Regions from separate parts of the Homo sapiens genome. Here region 2 is linked to region 1. Evidence: promoter capture Hi-C in human tissues and cell types (Jung and others, 2019). All regions are on one chromosome and are shown on one strand. The core of a region is centred on a gene start or on the middle of the fragment in contact, and the rest is flanking DNA. Distances in the headings are between cores, read along the strand shown. Region 1 holds the start of CHD3 (chromodomain helicase DNA binding protein 3). Region 2 holds the start of ZBTB4 (zinc finger and BTB domain containing 4).

Evidence for each region. The method cuts DNA at HindIII sites, captures the fragments that hold promoters and counts their contacts. A contact is called where the count stands out against the background at its distance.
Region 2: a contact is called between the fragment with the promoter of ZBTB4 here and the fragment with the promoter of CHD3 in region 1, in 1 of the 25 tissues and cell types used here (heart left ventricle).

What each region holds. Positions count from the first base shown.
Region 1 is chr17:7,885,790-7,890,118 of GRCh38, reverse strand. CHD3 (chromodomain helicase DNA binding protein 3) reads right to left here and starts at 1,330. Exons shown (of 40, transcript NM_001005273.3): 1 at 1,019-1,330; 2 at 343-455. The coding sequence starts at 1,118. RefSeq lists enhancers at 329-898, 4,218-4,267 and a silencer at 2,308-2,467. The HindIII fragment of the contact is 8,044 bases long and covers 1-4,329 here.
Region 2 is chr17:7,476,662-7,480,945 of GRCh38, reverse strand. It overlaps ZBTB4 (zinc finger and BTB domain containing 4), which reads left to right and starts at 1,315. Exons shown (of 4, transcript NM_001128833.2): 1 at 1,315-1,490. RefSeq lists silencers at 959-1,218, 1,239-1,698, 1,959-2,008. The HindIII fragment of the contact is 10,425 bases long and covers 1-3,726 here.

The DNA of each region.
Region 1 (4,329 bases), core at 81-2,580:
AGGCACAGAGAGCCAAATAAACGGCCTGGTATCCTAGACAGAGGAATGCTGGACTCTTGAATTCATACAGTCTTCCAGAGCTTGTGCTTTCAACTGCTTCTCTTTGCTGCTGAGGACACACTGACAACGAGGCTCTTCACTAGGTTGCAGTGAATGAAGTTAGGGTCCCAGATCCCTGAGATACAGGCCAACAGTGGCAGGGAAGTGGGGGGCCCGGGGGATCAAGCCTCCCTGGCTTCAGAACCCCACCCCCACACCAGTAATCAGGACCAGAGAAAATGTAGGTCTCTGAGAATGGGTCTCTTGAGCCTTGCCACAGAGTTAGGAATTCTTGACACTTACACGCTTCTTGCGTTTTCGGGGTTTTCCTGGCTTGTTCTCCTTCTGCTTCTTGGGTCCTCGTTTTCTCTTCTTCACACCCAATGCTGACGGCAGCAGCCGAATGTCATCCTTATCTTTGAAGCAAAAAGCATCAGAAAACCTAAGCCTCTAGGTTTCCAGCCTCTGAGGCCCCTCAACTTGCCCCTTCCCCACCTCGGCAGTTCCCACTCTCTAGGAAGCATTAACTCCTCCAAGCCCTGCCTCCCTTCACTGGATGCAAACAGAAAGTGTTTCGAGTACTCTGGGATGCTCTGGTTCTGAATGGGAGGTCAGGGGTCAGAAGAGAAGAGCAGCCAAACCACTCCCCTCCCTCCCCTCCTACTAACAAGAGACCAGGCTCCAGGCCATGGGCTCTGACTGTGGCAGGTCCTTTCAGTCACCGCCAGGGCTCCTCCTGCCTTCCCCCTCACTTCGCCAGCTGGCATCCTGCCCAGGAACTGGGGAAGCCATGCCCAGCTGCTGGCCTGGCCTGACCCCAGCACTTGGAGTGGGGAGACACAAGCTGGCAGCTCCCTAAGCCAGATGCTGGGGAGGGAGAGCCAAAGGTGGACACCTGGGTTCTCACACTAACACCCTGGGGCCCTGACATCCTTTTGCCAAGAGGGAGGCCTCTATTTACATTTCCTCGGATAATTACCAGGCATCCTGTCACCCCAACACAGTCCTGGAGGAAAAGAAATCCTCAGCTGGTCATTTTTACTTCTTGCCCACAGGATCACAGTGTCTGCCGCCTTCATCACACAGGAGAAAGTCTCCACAATTACCTAAATATTCCTCCTCCCAAGTAGCCTAAAACCTACCTTCAATTCTATTCCCATCTCCCTGCTCCCTTTGGGAACTAGGGGGCCATACCCTTTGTTTCCCGATCTCACCCTTCACCTCCATATTTTGTTCCAGATATCCTGACCCATTCATCTATACGCAGTATGGGAGACCCAAACAAAGATATAGGCACAGACAGACACACCCAGCATATGCCTTCTCAAAAGCACGCGCGCGCACGCGCGCACCCACACCCACACACACTCTCAGGCCCACAAATCCAGAGGATGGCCTGTACCTGCTTCAGCAGGGATAGGTCCCTGGCTTTCTCCCCAGATGTCTCTGCCAGAGGACCCCAGGCCCCCCACCCCATTATCTGTGAAGGTGTCACTCTGTGAAGGCTTGGGGAACGGAACGGAGAGTTACCCCACATAAAGGAAGACAGGATGCCCCACAGACCTGGGGCCCTGGGGCTCTGGTTCACGTCCCTCCCCTACCAAGCACTAGACTAACCAGCCAGACCTGTCTAGTACAGAGAGAGGCAGCCGATGCAAGATGGGAAAGCCTGGGCTTGGCCCAGCCCCTAGCTCTAGGACACACAATCCTTTCTCCTTCCCTCAACAGCCAACGGAAAATTAGCCACAATTAACACCAGAGGCCTCCGTTTCCACTGCCTCAGAGTCGCTGCCTCGCCTTCCTTCAGTGCCACCTTTCCTGCTAACTCCAGCATCCTGTGTCCCCTTGTGCAGGAAGACACTCTAGGACTGTGTGCGTGTGTGCAGGGGGGTGGCTGCCAGAGCCCGGGTGTGAAACGGAATGGGGACTGTAATAGGAAGTCAGCAAGGAAGGCGCCATGCCCCAGCAGCCGGCTCCCCCTGGCCCCAGGGACTTCGGTTGACTTGAACATGGAAACGCAGGCTGCCGAGGCAGTGGCAAGGGCAGGCCAACTGGCTAAGGTTCAGGGACACGGCCTCGGCCACCACCAGCCAGGGGTGGTGCACAAGCCGGTTCACTCTACTCCCCACCCCAGCGGGAGGTTCCCGAACTTGGGCAGGCGTCGGTGGCGGGAGAGGCAAAGCGAGAACGGCAAGGAAAAGCAAGGAAGGGTAATAAAGCAAATCTAAGTCCCAACCTCGGTCTCAGCAGCCACTCAATGCTGGCCTGGAGCCCAGACTCTCCCACATCCCCGGCTCGGATCTCAGGGAGGCAGGGAGGAGAGAGGCGGGGGCCGGAGGGCGCAGGGCGGAGCCTGGCCGCCCGAGCAAGCGGGAGGAGTCTCGGCCGAAGCCTCGCCTCCCGCCCGCCCCTCTCTTCTTCTAATCTCACCATCAATCTCTCACACATATATTTATTTTTTCTCAAATTCCCCTCCCTCCCCCACAACGCACCACCATAATAGGTCTGCTGCACATGCGTACTGCAGGCAGGGGGTGGGTTTGTATTTTCAGACCTTTTGCAAAGAAACTACCAGAATTTTCCGCACCACCCACAATCATTCCCCACCCCCACCCCCAAGGAATCACATCTATATATTATGTTATATTATTTCTCTCGACTTGCCAGAAGGGGGAGGGAGAAGAAATGAGTTTTTGGCTTCCTGCTCCCTTCCCCCACCAACACGACTGCTATTATTTTAAACGTTTAACAATGTAAGGAGACTGGAGAGAGGGGGAAGGGATAAAATTGGTCTTGAGTAAGAATGTAAAACAAAATGGTGAGAATCAAAGCAGTCGGAATGGAAAACAATGGAAATCTCTCCTGTGCACAAATGCATACTCTAGACAAGGAAGAGCGAGGGCAGCCTGAACAAATTTCCTTAGAGGAGGGTTCTTTTCCCCACACTTAGGTAGACAGAAATAATGAGTGTGCTAAAAATAATTTCCCGAAGTTTTACCTCCGAAAGTCATCTGAGGGGGTGTATCTGGGTCACTCATTCGACTTGGAGGGCTGAAAGGGAGATAAAAATTGCCCAGGGGGAGAGGGGAGGTGGGTTTTCATTTCAGTTGTAAAATGTAAGCAGCCTCTGACGTCTCTTCTGGTCTATTCAGAAAGCCAAGAGGGAAAGGGGAGGCCGGGTTGACACAAAGACCCATCTCAACCTCGGATCCTTTCACGCTTCTCTCCCCAACGTACCCAGATCCGGGACCCACACCACCCCACCCCAGACTCCAAGTCCCAATACAAATAGGTGAGCGCTGCCAAGCCCCTGGCAGGACCTGACGGCCTTTCTTTCCCTCTTTTCAGCGCCTCTGCCGGAGGCAACCCCAAAGGCACCCTCTCCCCACAACTCCTCATTCCTCCTCCTCCTGCCAAGGCAGGGGGCTCTCTGGGAGAACTTTTTCAAAACTTTACCCTTTTTCAGACAAGCTTGGGGGGCGGGGAGACTTTATCCAGTTTCCAGGAGACACACATCCCTCCCCGACCCACAAGAAAGCACCCCCCGCTCCCCCAAAGGTCGTCTCGGCTAGACAGGAACGTTTGCCACAGAAGCCACACGGATCAATATGACAGTTTTACAAAGAGCCCGGAGTTGGCCGTTTTGAAGTTTGGTGCATTTGTGCCGCATGGCAGCCAGAGGCCCGGGGGTGCGGAGGTCCCCCTGCTGTTCCCCAAGCAGGGGGTGTGGACACCCAGATGCTCACCTATCCCAAAGAAGACTAGAAATCACTCCACTAGGAGGGTGGTCTGAGGGGGACACCGCTGGGCGCCTGACGCGGCGCAGCGGTCTGGAGAGCGCCGCCCAGAGAGTGCCGCCGGGTGACTTGTCACCTCGGGGGACGGGTGCTGAGTGATGGTCAAGCTGCAGAACAGCTGGGTGGGCAGTTCACGCCCCCCAACGTGCTCAGGGAGTGGGTGGTTTCAGCGAGAGAGTGAGTGACAGTGAATGGCAGCCACGTGAGAGTCACAGCTGGGCAGCTTGGCCACCCCAGACTGACGGGGTCAAGAGGGGGACCCCCCCCACCGCACTTGACACAAAAGAGCCCAGAGCCCCGGCGAGATGAAGGGGGTGGAGCCGGGGGTATCTGGTTCCCCAGACACTCTTCTCTCCGCTCCCCAATCCGAATGGACTGCTGTCCCTGCACAGGCTGGGGGAGCGAGGGGACGAGCTCCTGCCTTATTCCAGGAAGTGGTCTGCGTGGACTGTGGCCACCACCTGCCCCTACTCATCAGCAGCCCACAAACATT
Region 2 (4,284 bases), core at 66-2,565, 410 kb after region 1:
TCAAGTGATCCACCCCACCACCCCCCGCCTCCCAAAGTGGTGGAATTACAGGCATGAGCCACCGTGCCCAGCCCAACTCTGCTTCTTTTCTATTTATGTCTCCATGACTCCAAAGTTTGTCTGATTCTTTTATTCTTTTTATGGCTAGCTCTGTGGCTTTACATTAATTTGTTTATTTATATCTTGCATGGTTTCAGAGAGGTTTTTTTGTTGTTGTTTTTTTTTTGAGACGGAGTCTGTCTCTGTCGCCCAGGCTGGAGTGCAGTGGCGAGATCTCGGCTCACTGCAAGCTCCGCCTCCCAGGTTCACGCCATTCTCCTGCCTCAGCCTCCCGAGTAGCTGGGACCACAGGCGCCCGCCACCACGCCCGGCTAATTTTTTTGTATTTTTAGTAGAGACAGGGTTTCACCGTGTTAGCCAGGATGGTCTCGATCTCCTGACCTCGTGATCCGCCCACCTCGGCCTCCCAAAGTGCTGGGATTACAGGCGTGAGCCACCGCGCCCAGCCTCAGAGAGGTTTTAAGGCAAGGAGCTGTGAACCCTGGCTCCTCCATCTCCTTAGTTTTTAATTTTCCAGCACCAGGGAGGAGTTCTTGGGATTGTCCCTGTGGAGTTTCAGGAATGTGTTTTTTCTGTGTGTGCTTCCACCTGGTGTTTTGTTGATGCTGTCCCCAGAGGCCGACACCAAGGCCTCTGCATTTATGTTCAAGTATACAGATGTGGATCTATCTGCTGGTGGGGACAAAGTACCCAGCCAGCTTCATGTGTTCATTTGCGCTGGTGGTCGTTCGTGTGTGCCCCGTATGCAGGGCCAGGGCCTTCTTTTTCCGCGGCCTGCTGAGCTTTCCTGCGCATTCCTGGAGAGGGTGTGTGTGTGTGTCCAGGGCTGGCCCTCTTTGAGTGTGCCGACCCTGGGTCTGTGAGTCCCACCGGGCCTGATTATGAGTCTGCCATGTCATGTCTGCACCCTGAGAGCCTGTGTGTTATGCTTTCAGGCAGTGTGCACCGCTGAGTGAAGGGCGTGCAGGAGGAAGGGCGGAGGGAGCCCTTTCCCTGGGGGTCGGTGGTCTTGCGCCCCTGCCGGGATGCTGCAGCCCGGCCCGCGCCCCGCTCGGTGTCCACCCGCCCGGTGGCCCAGCGCGGCGCAGTGTCATGCCGCGGGGGTCAGTCCTGGGGAAGGCCGTCGGGCGCTCGGAGCTTTGTGTCGGTGTCGGCTGCGCTGCGCCGGCCTCCTCTCGGCGGCGGCGGCGGCGGCGCTGGGGGGGGACTGTTTCCGGGGGTGGGGGTGGGGGTAGGACCGGGGCGGGGGGAGCCGATGATGTCAGCGGCGGCGGCGGCGGCGGCAGCGGGGCCGGGCCGGGGCCAGGCGCTGGGGGGGCCAGGGCCGGAGCTGGAGCCGGAGCCGGAGCTGGAGGCGGGCAAAACCGGAGCGGCCGGGGGCGGCCACGGTGATGAGCCGGGCCTGGCGGACGCGGCGCCATCGCAGTCAGGTGGGCCCTGGGGCGAACTGGGCAGGGCCAGGGCGGACCGGAGCCAACTGCCAGGCCCCCTCTCCGCTGCCCGGCGCTGCGGGAGCCCCGACCGCGCCCCGCGCCCAGACCGCTCTCCTTTGGGGTTGACCTGGGGGCGCAGGGGTCGGGGGCTGAGCCTGGCCCCGCCCCCGGGCGCGCACGACGCTGGGGGGCGACTAAGGGGGCCCTGGTATGGCGTCCGAGCGAGGGGCGGCCGTGGGACGCGATCGCCTGGGGCCGTGGAAGGGGAGGTGCTCACTCCCTCTTTGAAGGGTTAATTCTGCAGCCTAATGGCCCCCTCCCCCCGTGGGGCAGATTGGGGGTGGGGTGGGGCGGGTGTGAGCCCGGGCAAGCGCTGCAAGCTGCTGGGAGGGTGATGGCGTAGGAGCCAGGCAGAGAGGGGGAGGGGTGGGCCGCCGAGCGCCCCAGAGTTGGGGTGTGCGGGGTGCGCAGGGCGAGCTGGGGCCCCGGAACCGCCGCGCCGTCGGGGCAGGGTTGTGGCTGTGAGTCTTGGAGATCGTGTGTCTTGTGCTGTGTGGTGGGGCAAGGTAAACCTCTCCTGGGCACCACCGTTTGCTGGCAGCCAGGGGTCTGGGTAGGGCCCTCCCTGGGCCATGGAGATAGAAAGCCAGGAAGGGTGTCCAGTGTTGTGGGGCAGAGTTACAAGACGAGCCCTGTGGCTTTGGGTGACAGATGGGTATTCTGAGCAGGGCACAGCATGCTGGGTGCAGAGTTTGTTCGATGTGGGGCTGTATGTTTTCTACAGCATGTGTTTTCTCGCATGTGTGTCTTGTGCTGCACCTATGACCTGTTTATGAACTGTTTTCTGCAGAGCTGGCATGCTGTATGTGTTGCGGAGGGTGCCAGGATGCAGTGTATGTGCCCTTTTGGAGGGGGCGGTTGTGGGCCTTTGAGTCAGAAGGCGTCACGTCTGGGTCCCATTTCTGTGGCCCTGCTGAGGTGTGGTCCAGTGGTGAAGAGGGCGATGGATGGGTTTGCGTGTCTGTGATGAGCGCGTTGCATGGGGGCTGCGCGTCTAGAACTCAGATCCCAAAGATCATGAGAGGAGCGAGGAACCCCGGGGTATGTCTCAGGGGCCTGTGGGTCAGTTGGCACTGGTGTGAGGGGCTCGAGGTGGAATGCGCCAGTTGTGTTTATGGGATCATGGGCAGCCAAGCGAGGGGAAGGTTGTGTGTTTGCAACATTCTCCACAGGATTCTTTTGTGACGTTGTTTGTAGGAGCCTGTCTGGGCTGCTGAGCTGGGAGGCAAACTGGTCAGAAAACACATGTGGGGAGGGAGGTGGCGTGACAAGGGCAGTGTGGGCCTCAGACCCAAGAGGCCAGCCGCAAGCAGGCTGTGTGTGCGTGCCTGCCGTCTGTGTGCTTAAGTGGCGGTGGGGCTGCGGAGGGGATTTGGTATGAGGAAGGCGGGAGATAAATGCAGGGTAGCGCATGGAGGCCGGCGGGAGGCATGGGTGTTGTCAGATGGCCCAGCTAATCTTTGCAGGGTCTGTATGTTTGCCCCTCATGAGCCTGCCCAGCGTGTCAGGGTCACCCGGAGGAGAGGCTGGGCGGCCACAAGGGAAGTAAGCTTAGACAGAGAGGCTCCTTGGCCATGTTTATGTAAAGGCTGGGTGTGACTCTTGTCACTAAAATGGAAAAAAGAAACGTGAAGTTTTCAGCCTCCTCCTGCTTCACCCTCTCCCTCTCTCTGCCCCCCTTGTGGGTATCTCTGACGCACACTGGGCCCCACTCCTGCGACGGTGGAAGGGCCTCAGAACAGAATTCGCTCACTAGGCAGATTCCTCAGAACAGGTTTTCCTCACCTTTGGGGACTGGGCCCTTCTAGGGGTGTGTGTGCAAGTGCATTCCAAGCCTGCACACCACTGTCTACTGTGCCCGGCCCCACTGGAAGGATGTGTGTACGTGGGGGAAGGGAGGGTGCTGCGGACAGGCCCTCCGGCATGGGGGGCTGGGAAGGGGTGGCTGCCGTGGGAGCCTGCTCAACAGGTGCACAGTGACGGTCTGGTGAAGAGAAAGGAGCCATGGTCCAGGGCTGAGGAGCTCTGGCGTCTTTACCATTCCCTCACTGGCACTTGATCTGAAGGAAGCTCAGTTCCTCATCTGCAGAATGGGGCTGATTGTCTGCCCTGCGTATCTTCCAAAAGCACATGGGAAACGGACCCGGAAAGTGGCTATAGTCTGGGGGCTGTGCCTATGCCAGCCCCTGTCAGCCCTCCCCCAGGACTGGGAATTCCCTTCTTGGGGCTTCGCTGATAATAATGGCAGCACACACTTGCTTAGCACTGACCGTGCACCAGCCTGTCCTCAGGGCACTTATATGTGGCCACTCTGTCCTCAGAACAACACCCTGAAGTAGGCACTCTACCTCCCTTTTTCAAGTGAGGCAGCTGAGGTCCAGAGAAGTTAAGTAATCTGCCCCAAGTCACTTAGCTAGTAAGAGGTGAAGCTGTATTTGAACCCGGGCAATCAGGTTGAAGATCTTGTGCTCTTAACTACTGTACTCTGCTGCCTTCTGGAACATTCAGTGGATGGTCCTTTCTGTGCAACTCCCTCCAACACTCTTCTCCCCAGTTGCTGCAGAACTTAGCATTTGCAGCAGTCCATTTCAGAAGACCCGGATGCTCAGGGATCCCCAGCTGAGGGCATGAGAACCTGAGTCTCTGCTGCTGTGTAAGGTGGATGCTGGCCATAGGAGCACAAAAGGTTGATGAGTCAGAGGAAGGAATGATCGTTCTCATCCTGTGGATC